Linked DNA regions of Homo sapiens: region 1 is linked to region 2. Evidence: promoter capture Hi-C in 16 types of primary human blood cells and fetal thymus (Javierre and others, 2016). All regions are on one chromosome and are shown on one strand. The core of a region is centred on a gene start or on the middle of the fragment in contact, and the rest is flanking DNA. Distances in the headings are between cores, read along the strand shown.

Region 1 (4,953 bases), core at 2,400-4,899, 150 kb after region 2:
CTTTGCCTCCCAGGCCCAAGCAACTCTCCCACCCCAGCCTCTCTCAAGTAGCTGGAACCAGAGGCATGCGACACCACGCCTGACCAATTTCTGCATTTTTATTTTTATTTTTTTTGAGATGGAATTTTGTTCCCAGGCTGGAGTGCAGTGGCGCGATCTTGGCTCACTGCACCCTCTGCCTCCCAGGTTCAAGTGATTCTCCTGCCTTAGCCTCCCGAGCAGCTGGGACCAGAGGCACCCACCACCATGCCCAGCCAATTTTTGCATTCCTAGTAGAGACGGGGCTTCACCATGCTGGCCACGCTAGTCTTGAACTCCTAACCCCAGGCGATCCACCCGCCCTGGCCTTCCAGAGCACTGGGACCAAAGGCACGAGCCACGGCACCTGACCCAGTAAAAAAATGGCCAAGAAATGTTCTGGATAGCAAAGGGATGGATAGAAACTCAGGACTAAAAAGCTGGTGTGAATAAATATCCTAAAAAAAAAATTTAAAGGGTTCTCCCAAATGGCTCATTACTTAGAACACTGTTCTGCAAACAGGGCCACACGATTATTAGAAACTATCATTGTTATTATATGGAACAAACTTTGAACATCTATGATATGGGCAGATTTGTTTATTTGAAAACATCTACATTCTTCTAATGTAAATGTCGAAGTCACAAGTTTCTAGGCCATCCTTTTGTTTTAATCTGAAGATTAACCTGTCTTTACATCTGAAGTTTTAAAACACAAAAAGGCTCAGTACTGACTGCATACATGGGTAAAAGGTTTTTCATCCACAAAAACAACCTGCCAACCATCCCCAGACTCAGCCCTTTCCCTCTTAGGTACAGCCTGCATTAGAGTCCTGAAAGCACAGCAATACTGCCAAGAGGCACGTTTTATTTTTTTAAATAGTTTCCACACATGGCATTGAAGACATTTCAAATGGTATTTATTTATTGAGACAGAGTCTTGCTGTGTTGCCCAGGCTACAGTGCAGTGGCATGATCTCAGCTTATGCCTGGCTAATTTTTTTTTTTTTTTAGTAGAGACGGGGTTTCACTATGTTGGCCAAGCTGGTCTTGAACTCCTGACCTTGTGATCTGCCTGCCTTGGCCTCCTAAAGTGCTGGGATTACAGGTATGAGCTACTGCGCCCGGCCCTTCAAATGTTATTTAAAATTCTTAGTTCCTAAACACACATCAATTTGAGGAGGCCCAGCTTAAACTGAAAAGCTTATAACAGATAATACTTTCCAACTGTTCACGTGCATACTTTCATAAAAAAAGGAACAATAATTAAAGTCTACCATATCACTATTATACTTTAGCTTGTCTGTAGCTTCCAATCCTCTGTACAAAACTAAGCATCAAAGAATAATATTGAAGAAACAAAGTCTCTGCACCTGAAGGTAAACAGCATTTTTATGCTGTTAAAAAGAAATTACAAACGTTTTCTTCCCTGTAAGATGAGGATCACAAAAGTATCAGTGCATGTATGTCTGCATCAATTAGAACACTACCTGCAAGGGGGCATGAGGGAACTTTTTGAAGCAATGGTGAACTTTGGTGGTGGTTATACTACTGAATACACAGTTGTCACAGACTTGTACACTTAAAATAGGTGAACTGTACTACATGTAAATTATACCTCAATAATGCTGATTGAAAAACTACAAGTGAAAATGGGAAATAGTAAAACTAGGGCATAGCAGTGCTACAAAGAAATTAACATCTTCAGACAACAACATTTCAATAGTCTTTATCCTGGCAGCATTTGAATTAACCATTAAAAAAAAATGATGGGTACATGCCTGTAATCCCAGCACTTTGAGAGGCCAAGGCGAGAGGATTGCTTGAGTCCAGGAGTTTGAGACCAGCCTGGGCAACATGGTGAGACCCCCATATCTACAAAAAAATTACCTGGGCATGGTGGCGCGTGCCTGTGGTTCCAGCTACTTGGGAGGCTGAGGTGGGAGGATCGCTTGAGCCCAGGAGGCAGAGGTTGCAGTAAGCCAAGATCACACCACTGCACTCCAGCCTGGGTGACAGAGAGATATCTAGTTTCAAAAACAAACAAACAACAACAAAAAAGGCCAGGCACAGTGGCTCAGAGCGCCTATAATCCCAACACTTTGGGAGGCCAAGACAGGCGGATCACCTGAGGTCAGGAGTTTGAGACCAGCCTGGCCAAAATGGTGAAACCCCATCTCCAATAAAAACACAAAAATTAGCCAGGTGTGGTGGCGGGTGCCTGTAATCCCAGCTACTTGGGAGGCTGAGGCAGGAGAATCGCTTGAACCTGGGAGGCGGAGGTTGCAGTGAGCCAAGATTACATCACTGCACTCCAGCCTGGATGACAGAGCAAGACACTGTCTCAAAAAAAAAAAAAAAAATGTAGAAAGTAGAAGGAAGGAGGGGAAGAGTGAAGGATGCTCTTCTCAGACATATTATTTCTGCCTTCTCTCACTTGGAATATGTAATTCAGGAAAGGTCATGAAAGAGAATTTCACCTTTACACTAAAATGGAAATAATGCAATCCAAAAGAAGAGAAAACGGGACTTCACAATCTTCAAGTGCTTCAGAGGTGCATTTACCATGTATGCAGATTCACGTACTCTAACTGGAAGGTACTATGACATACTAATTTTAAAACATTTTAATTTTTTTTTTTTCAGACAGAGTCTTGCTCTGTTGCCCAGGCTGGAGTGTTGTGGTACAATCTCAGCCCACTGCAACCTCCGCCTCCCGGGTTCAAGCAATTCTCCTGCCTCAGTCTCCCAAGTAGCTGGGATTACAGGCACATGCCAGCATACCTGGCTAATTTTTTGTATTTTTAGTAGAGGTGGGGTTTCATCACGTTGGCCAGTCTGGTCTCGAACTCCTGACCTCAGGTGATCCACCTGCCTCGGCCTCCCAAAGTGCTGGGATTACAGGCATGAACCACCCCACCTAGCCAAAACATTTTAATTTTTTCAGAAAGTCGACTTCCTCTCTTAGATTGAAAAATAACTAAAATAACTAAAATAAAAACTTTTCTTTAAAAATACAAACGCTCTGCCAGCTACAAAGGTGTCAAATATATATATATATATAAGCTTGCAGTTACCAGTTCTAAATTTTATGATTCCGTTATTATTAGAGTATTATAGTTTATCTAAAGCATATTTTTAAAAACCAGATTTCAATACACTAAACTGTCAATAACTAAGTGCTGTCAATTCATATTTTAGTCGAACTGAAATACTTAAAATCCAGATGTGACAAGGTATTTGTAAAGTTGTCTAATTTCTCTTGAAGAAAATCACACTCCAAAGCTTTACCATAGAGATCTTTTATTTGGAATGACTGGGCTATCTACAGAGAAGGAACTTCTTGAGCTTAAATAGGGATTTCTCAAAGCTAACATCAAGAAGTCCTGTAAACTCTGCCAAATTGTGGATGGTATATAAACAAACACAATATGTATTTTGGGACAAAGATCCTGCAGGCAAGTGCGTAAATGGTACCAGAAGAAGCAGAATCATAGACCTTTATTAGAAAAGGCCATTTAAAATAAAATTCTGTCCTCACTCATTAAATCCAATCTTGTTAGATTTTGCTTTATTTTATGCTCATAAAAATAAATTAAAAGACTTTTAAGTATAAAGTCCAGAAAGAAAAAAAATACAACTTATCAAAATTTTTAAAAGTAGCTACTCTAATGACATATACTTAATAAATACTTCTCGATGTCTGACATTAATGTATTTGACTATCAATTAAAATCATAAGCTATAAACAAGAATGTAACAACCATAGAAAAGTTTAACCTCTCTTTTTCTGAGGTCAATGTGGTAAAAACGAGATAGCATATTCAATTTCCACAGAAAAAAATGAACAGTAGCACTGTAAAGTTCATTTTTTTCCTTTTATGAAATGATTTTCATACCCCTTATCTTTAAAGTCATAAACTGGGATCGCAAAGTAAGTACATCCAATCATTATTTCAAAATCCCAATGAAGCTTTATGAGACACAGAATACATGTAAAAACCATTAATCTGACCACTCAAGACTAATAATTTATGGTCAACCATAATCACTTGCATTTATTTGAAATAAAAGTAATTGGAAATAAGTCCTAAGAGGAAAGATCAAAGGAACTGGAGTTGCCTGGTCTACACAATTTTAACTTAAGAATGATTTAAATTCTGATTAGTTGCTTTTCCCTTGTCTTTTGACAGCTAGATTAAAGAATTAAGAACATTTTGGCTGCCAGTGTTTGTAACACACCAGGATGGAACACTTGGGAAAGATGTAGTGTTCCAACATTGTTCAACTACCTGACGTGAAGCTTACCTAAGGCACACTGTAGCACAAACACTCTATCAATCAGTTAGCTATAATCTCACCCTACAGAACCATCAAATTGCCTAACTGTAGACAGGGGTTTACAATTTAAAAGGCATTTTCACATATTCTGGTACTACATTTAATTCTCACATGAGGCACATGAATAGGGCAGACATTCTGATCCTCATTTACATGTTAAGGAAAATAGTTATGACTGTCTTGACTCAAATCTAGAGCTCTTTCTATTATACTGTTATTAGTTTAAATCATTTCTGAGAAAGATCCTTATTAAGAGCCAATGTAGACAGCTCACCAGGTACCTGGGTATAAAAGTTTCAAATATATTTGAAGGATTATAAAATTCTGTGCTCTGACTTGGTCATATGTAAGGTATATACTTATAATCAGTCACCCGTTAACAGACCTTCCTTATAGAAGCCCTTGATTTGAAAATATTCTATAGCCACATAAGCAACAGAATGAATAAAAGGACTAATTTCTATGAGCCCATTTTCTTAAATCATAAAACTGTATTTCAAATAATAGAGAATATAGAGCTTTTTGTTTCCGCTCTATTAGGATTCTAATTTTTTCTGAGTTCGCTAAATTTAAGTGAGTATTATTGTAGCTGGC
Region 2 (5,431 bases), core at 2,793-5,292:
AGATCACTGGCCACAGGCACCTCATTCCTCTACCGATGGCTGATCCCTAGGTGAGGGTGTTCTAGCCAAGGCCAACATCCCTTTCCCATGACCAGTCAGGAGCATACAAGATGGAGAAGAAACACATCAGCGGGGCACAGTGGCTCACACCCATAATCCCAGCACTTTAGGGGGTTGAGGAGGGAAGACAGCTTGAGCTCAGGAGTTCAAGACCAGCCTGGGCAACACAGCAAGAGCCCATCTCTTAAAAAGAAAAAAAAAGGAACAGATCCTGTATTCACAATGCAACTAAACTAACAAGTTGGAAGTGGGCACCCCCATGCCCTGCATGTAAGAGCCTGCACACAAGCAAATACACACATATCCTCTCTCCCTCTCTCCCCCTTGTGCCTCTATCATACCCAAGAAGCCAAATCCAGGAAACAGTAGAGATGGGAACAGACCCAGGGACCCACTCCAGAATTTCTGTACCCTTTTGGTATAGCTGACCTCCACAGGGTCCCAGTGACACTCAGACAGAAGACTTACCCTGCCTGGTTCCTCTCTGAGCAGGCCCCAGAAACCCTCTTAAGAGACAGAACTCTCCTAAGACACTGAGCCCAGTGCTCAGGACTTTGGCTGAGCCCAGCCCACCCCCTTACCCCTACCCAGGCTCTGCTCACCAGCAAAGCATCTGCAGATGTCCTCATGAGTGACGTAGGCCAAAGTGTGAGGGTTAAGGAGAATGGCTGATGCCCTATGGTGACAGATGGCAGACTACAGAAAAGACCCAATTCTTTAGCTAAGGTCTGACACACAGGCCCTCAGAGACCGTTCTGGGGACTCAGGTCCACCGGGGGAGGGATCACAGGCTAAGAGTGGAAGGGGAGGGGCTCTGAGGAGGGAGCCTGAGGCTGGGCCATGGCCAGTGGCTATAAGACAAACTCCCAAGAGGAACAGGACTCAGGGCAAGTTGAACCAGAGGGCCCCTTGCCCACTCCCCCCAGCAGGGACCGCCAGGAGGATATCAGCTGTTCTGCACGTCCTCTGTGACGTTCCGGATGCTCTGCTGCACCCACACCTTGTGCTGGTCTAGTTCTTGCTCCCGCTGCTGCAGCTCCTCGATCTCTGCCTTGAGCTCAATCAGTTTGTCAGCAATCTCCCGGGTATTGCAGCCAGGCCCCACACCCCTGAGCCCAGGGAGTGGGGCTGAGAGGGACTGCTGAGAACTCTGGGTCCCATGGCCCCTGCCTTCTTCGGCACCCTCCACCCCACGCCCGACACTTCTGGGTGGGAGACTCTACTACCCTCCCACTATGCCCACTCACTTCCACTGGATGCTGTTCTTGGACTTTTTCTCGATTAGCCCGATACCTTCCAAAACATTGGTAATGTCGTAAATCCGCCGCTTCTGGCGTACAGCTAGGGTGTCAGCTGCCTGGCAGAGAGAATGGAGAATGCTCAGCCCCACTCTGGGGTGTACCCCCAGCCACCCTGAGACGTGGTCTGGGAAGGGAGTAATCTGGATTCCAACCCTGTAGTGCCTCCCAGGCGCTACTGCAGCTCAGGACCGCAGCTCTGTCCCATAGGCAGCTCTTCTCCTCGCCAGCCAGGAAGGGCCACGAGGACGAACACCTGCAGCCCGAGCCTGGCCCATAGCTGTAGCTCGATGGCCTCGGCCGAATGAATGAAACATCCCCCGGCTTCTCTCCTGTGAGAAAGCACACGATGGCGGCCGGCTCTCGGAGGACCCAGCTGGGCCGCCCCCGGGGTTCCCGCTACCGGCCCAGGCCTGGTCCACCAGCCTCCCTTGTCTCCCCTTAGCCCAGGCCGCACCAGCTTGAGGTCAAGCACGCCGTCCTTGGCCTCCTGCAGAAGGGACACGAACTTGGTGGTGAGCAGTCCCAGGCTCTTTTCGTGCCGGCTTGGAGTGCCCGGGGGCGGCGGCGCCTGTGGCCCGGCCTCCGCCATCGCGCCCGCCCGCCGCCTCCCCTCAGCCAGGCCAGGCCAGGCCGGCGCCGCCGCCACTTCCGCTTCCGTTCCTGGCCGCCGGGCAGCCGGAGCCAGCGTTACTGCTTCCGCTTCCGTCCCGTGCGCCTTCCAGGGAACGTGGCGCTATTGCTGTCTGTGGGTGCAGCCGCAAAACTTCAGGGACCAGTAGCAAATGTCCAGCCTCCGAATAAGACGAAAACTACCTGGGTAGACCGGGGAGTTGGGATGAAGTTGGGGAGGAATGAGAAGGGCGTCAGTGGGCCGCCCTGGCAGTAGAGAAGGGGACGCCATCGGAACTTTCCTTGCCAATCTGCCCCAACATCACTAACTCTGCCTAGTCCCCATCTTGGGAGAGGAGACCACACTACCTGACTAATCCAATCTGCTCCCTCAAACCTGTTCCTTTTCCATTTTTTTCTCTTTATTTATTCTTTTATATATTTCAAACTCATTTTACTGCCACATCAAACCTGTTCCTAAAGGCTGCCCTACTGTCTTGGGGTCACCCCATCTATTCCTATCCCTCACTTCCTGCCAAACAGCAAGCACTAACTATATCTACCTTGTCCACCTTGTTCCACCCATGGTCCTAGCCTCATCTTTCGCTCGTCTTGTCCTCACAGTACAGTGCTCAGAGACTATGGGGTTATGAACACTTCAGCCAATGCAAACGTGTTTACCTATGTGTAAATATCAGTAAAGCACTCAGTCATTCCTGGCATGCAGGAATGTGTGATACGGTCATTTTGTAACTTTTAACATTGTTACTATTTATTATTGTTTCTTTTAGATCAGGTCCTCTGGGAAATGGGACTCGAGATAGGGTTTTGCAGCAAGTTTGTTGGGGATCCACACTTTTTTTTTTTGAGACAGGGTCTCACTCTGTTGCCCAGGCCGGAGTGCAGTGGCAAGATCAATGCCGTCTCAGCTTCCTGGGCCCAAGCGATTCTCCCACCTCAGCCTCCCAAGTAGCTGGGACCACAGGCATGCACCACCATGCCCGGCTCATTTATTTTTAGTTTTTTAGAGATGTGGGTCTCACTATATTGCCCAGGCTAGTCTTGAACTCGTGGGCTCAAGAGATCCTCCCACCTCAGCCTCCCAGAATGCTGGGATGACCGGTGTGAGCCACCGCACCTGGTCAGGATCCACACCTTTAAGGGATTAAGACAAGCAGAATTGAGCAGATGCAATTATATTATAGGCCTCAGCCTATCCCACTAGGATCTCTGAAATTGGGGTAGCACTTCTGAAGGGTTCATGTTCACACGATGGTACCATGCTTTTGCACCCCAATATTGACTGAGAGACTCAGTGGTGTGATCTCAGTAGCCTACACTCCTGGCAGCTGGAGAATGAGCACTTCTGTCCTGAAGGGTGGATTTGGGTGGTGGACTGAACATCCACTAAATAATTACCACCTTATAGTCCCTTCCCTGGCTCCCTATAACTCTCAAGATAAACACAGCTGCCCAGTTGCGGTGACTCACGCCTGTAATCTCCCAACACTTTGGGAGGCTGAGGCAGGCAGATCGCTTGAGCCCAGAAGGCTGCAGTGAGCTATGGTGGTGCCACTGTACTCCAGCCTTGGTGACAGATCAAGACCCTGTCTAAAACAAAAAAGATAAACACAGCTTTCATGACCCTCTCCTACCACCCCCCACCACACCCCTCTTCACAAGAGCCTGCCACCTCTCACTCCTCCGCAGAGGTACACATCCTCCTCAGAGGCTGGCCAACACAGTTTTCATCCTGTGCTGTTGATGTCGTCTGCATCCATATCTGCACACTCTGCCCACCACCCCAGGTTGAGGCCAAGTCTAGCAAATCCCTATCTCCTCTCCTGAGCACTAAGAGGTTCTGGGTAGGCTGGTCAAGACTGGTTGAGTACAAGTACACCCCACCCCCCCGCCCCTCAGGGAAGTGTCGCCCAGCTGTCCCCACCCTCTGTGCAGACACTCTTTCCTGTTGGGAATAAAATGCCAGAGACTCAGCTTCCTTCCTTTCTGTTGATGGCCTTGGGGAGGGAGGAGCCTCGGTGGGAAGAAGGGGCTTCTGGGTGGGGAGTGGGAGAGAGACTTCCTTGGGGAGAGGAATTCAGCTGCACGCTGGAGTCAGCTGGAGTTGCCCAGGCCCTGTGAGCAAGTGGCAGGCGTGCCCAGCTGCATTGGGGAGAGGGCTGTTCTCAAGGCCAAGGTCATTTTTGGAGGGAGAACTGGACGCCTGATCAAATCTGGTAAGTTCTGTACCAAACTGTCCTGTGCAGCTCAGAGCAGGACCAGGGTCCAGTGGAGGCCTGTGCCCACTCTGTCTCGCTTGACATCTGCAGGGGCACGACTGGGAAACCTAGCAGGCAAAGCCTCCCAGGTGCCCTCCGCATCACACCCGCTCCCTCTCACTTCCCGAGGGGGCCGGGAAGAACCTCCTTCCTCCTCTCAGAAGGGCTTAGACAGAGGCAGCAGCTCACAGGGGCATCTACTCTGCCTGCTTGCCCCGGGCCCACCTCAGCTCTGGCTCCTCCAGGCCCACAATGGACTCAGCAGCCAAGGATGAGATGCAGCCGGCGTTGTCCCCTGGTATGAACCTTTTGGGTGGACTAGGGGAGGAATGATGGCAACAAAGATGGGACTGGCTGGGCGCAGTGGCTCACGCCTGTAATCCCAACACTTTGGGAGGTCAAGATGGGCAGATGACCTGAGGTCAGGAGCTCCAAACCAACCTGGCCAACATAGTGAAACCCCGTCTCTACTAAAAATACAAAAACTAGCTGGGCGTGATGGCACGCGCCTGTAATCCCAGCTCCTCGGGAGACTGAGGCAGGAGAATCGCTTGAACCCGGGAGGCGGAGGTTACAGGGACCCGAGATTGCACCACTGCACTCCAGCCTGGGCAACAGAGCGAGACTCCATCTCAATAAACAAATAAACAAACAAATAAATAAATAAATAAATAAATAAGAAAGCTGGGACTGGGGTCGTTGGGCCCTCCTCCCTGACTACACGGCTGCCCAGGCTCTTCCTTCCCAGGACCTGAGTGGCCAGAGCAGGAGCGGGCAGAGCAGCTGGCCCGGGGTGCAGCGCTCAAGTGGGCCTCAGGCATCTTCTACCGGCCGGAGCAGCTGGCCAGGCTAGGCCAGTACCGCAGCCGCGAGGTGCAGCGTACCTGCTCCCTGGAATCGCGCCTCAAGGTGGGCATGGGGCAGGGGGTGCGGGTGCTGGGACTGTGCTGCAGGGCTGGCCCAGCCTCATGGCTCCATCTTTCCACAGTCAGTGATGCAGTCATACCTGGAAGGCGTGCAGACTGGTGTGTGGCAGCTGGCCCAGGCCATTGAGGTGGTGCAGGGAACCCGGGAGGCCCTGAGCCAGGCCCGTGGGTTGCTCCAGGGCATGTCCCAGGCCTTACAGACTCTAGAGCCCCTACGGGAGCGGGTTGCCCAGCACAAGCAACTGCAGGCCCTGTC

What was found. The method cuts DNA at HindIII sites, captures the fragments that hold promoters and counts their contacts. A CHiCAGO score of 5 or more calls a contact.
Region 1: a fragment that was not itself captured here is called in contact with the fragment with the promoter of EXOC3L1 in region 2 in 1 of 17 cell types (total CD4 T cells); the score reaches 5.1 in total CD4 T cells.

Annotation. Positions count from the first base shown.
Region 1 is chr16:67,043,225-67,048,177 of GRCh38, reverse strand. The region is part of intron 3 of CBFB (core-binding factor subunit beta); the gene reads right to left. Among named protein-coding and RNA genes, the nearest start is that of CBFB, 17 kb to the right of the region's middle. The HindIII fragment of the contact is 688 bases long and covers 3,306-3,993 here.
Region 2 is chr16:67,188,747-67,194,177 of GRCh38, reverse strand. It overlaps EXOC3L1 (exocyst complex component 3 like 1), which reads left to right and starts at 4,042. Exons shown (of 14, transcript NM_178516.4): 1 at 4,042-4,207; 2 at 4,495-4,547; 3 at 4,998-5,158; 4 at 5,238-5,431. The coding sequence starts at 4,502. E2F4 (E2F transcription factor 4) reads right to left here and starts at 2,023. Exons shown (of 10, transcript NM_001950.4): 1 at 1,816-2,023; 2 at 1,308-1,417; 3 at 1,008-1,169; 4 at 663-706. The coding sequence starts at 1,950. RefSeq lists enhancers at 872-981, 2,062-2,201, 1,370-2,300 and a silencer at 1,782-1,971. The HindIII fragment of the contact is 15,341 bases long and covers 1-5,431 here.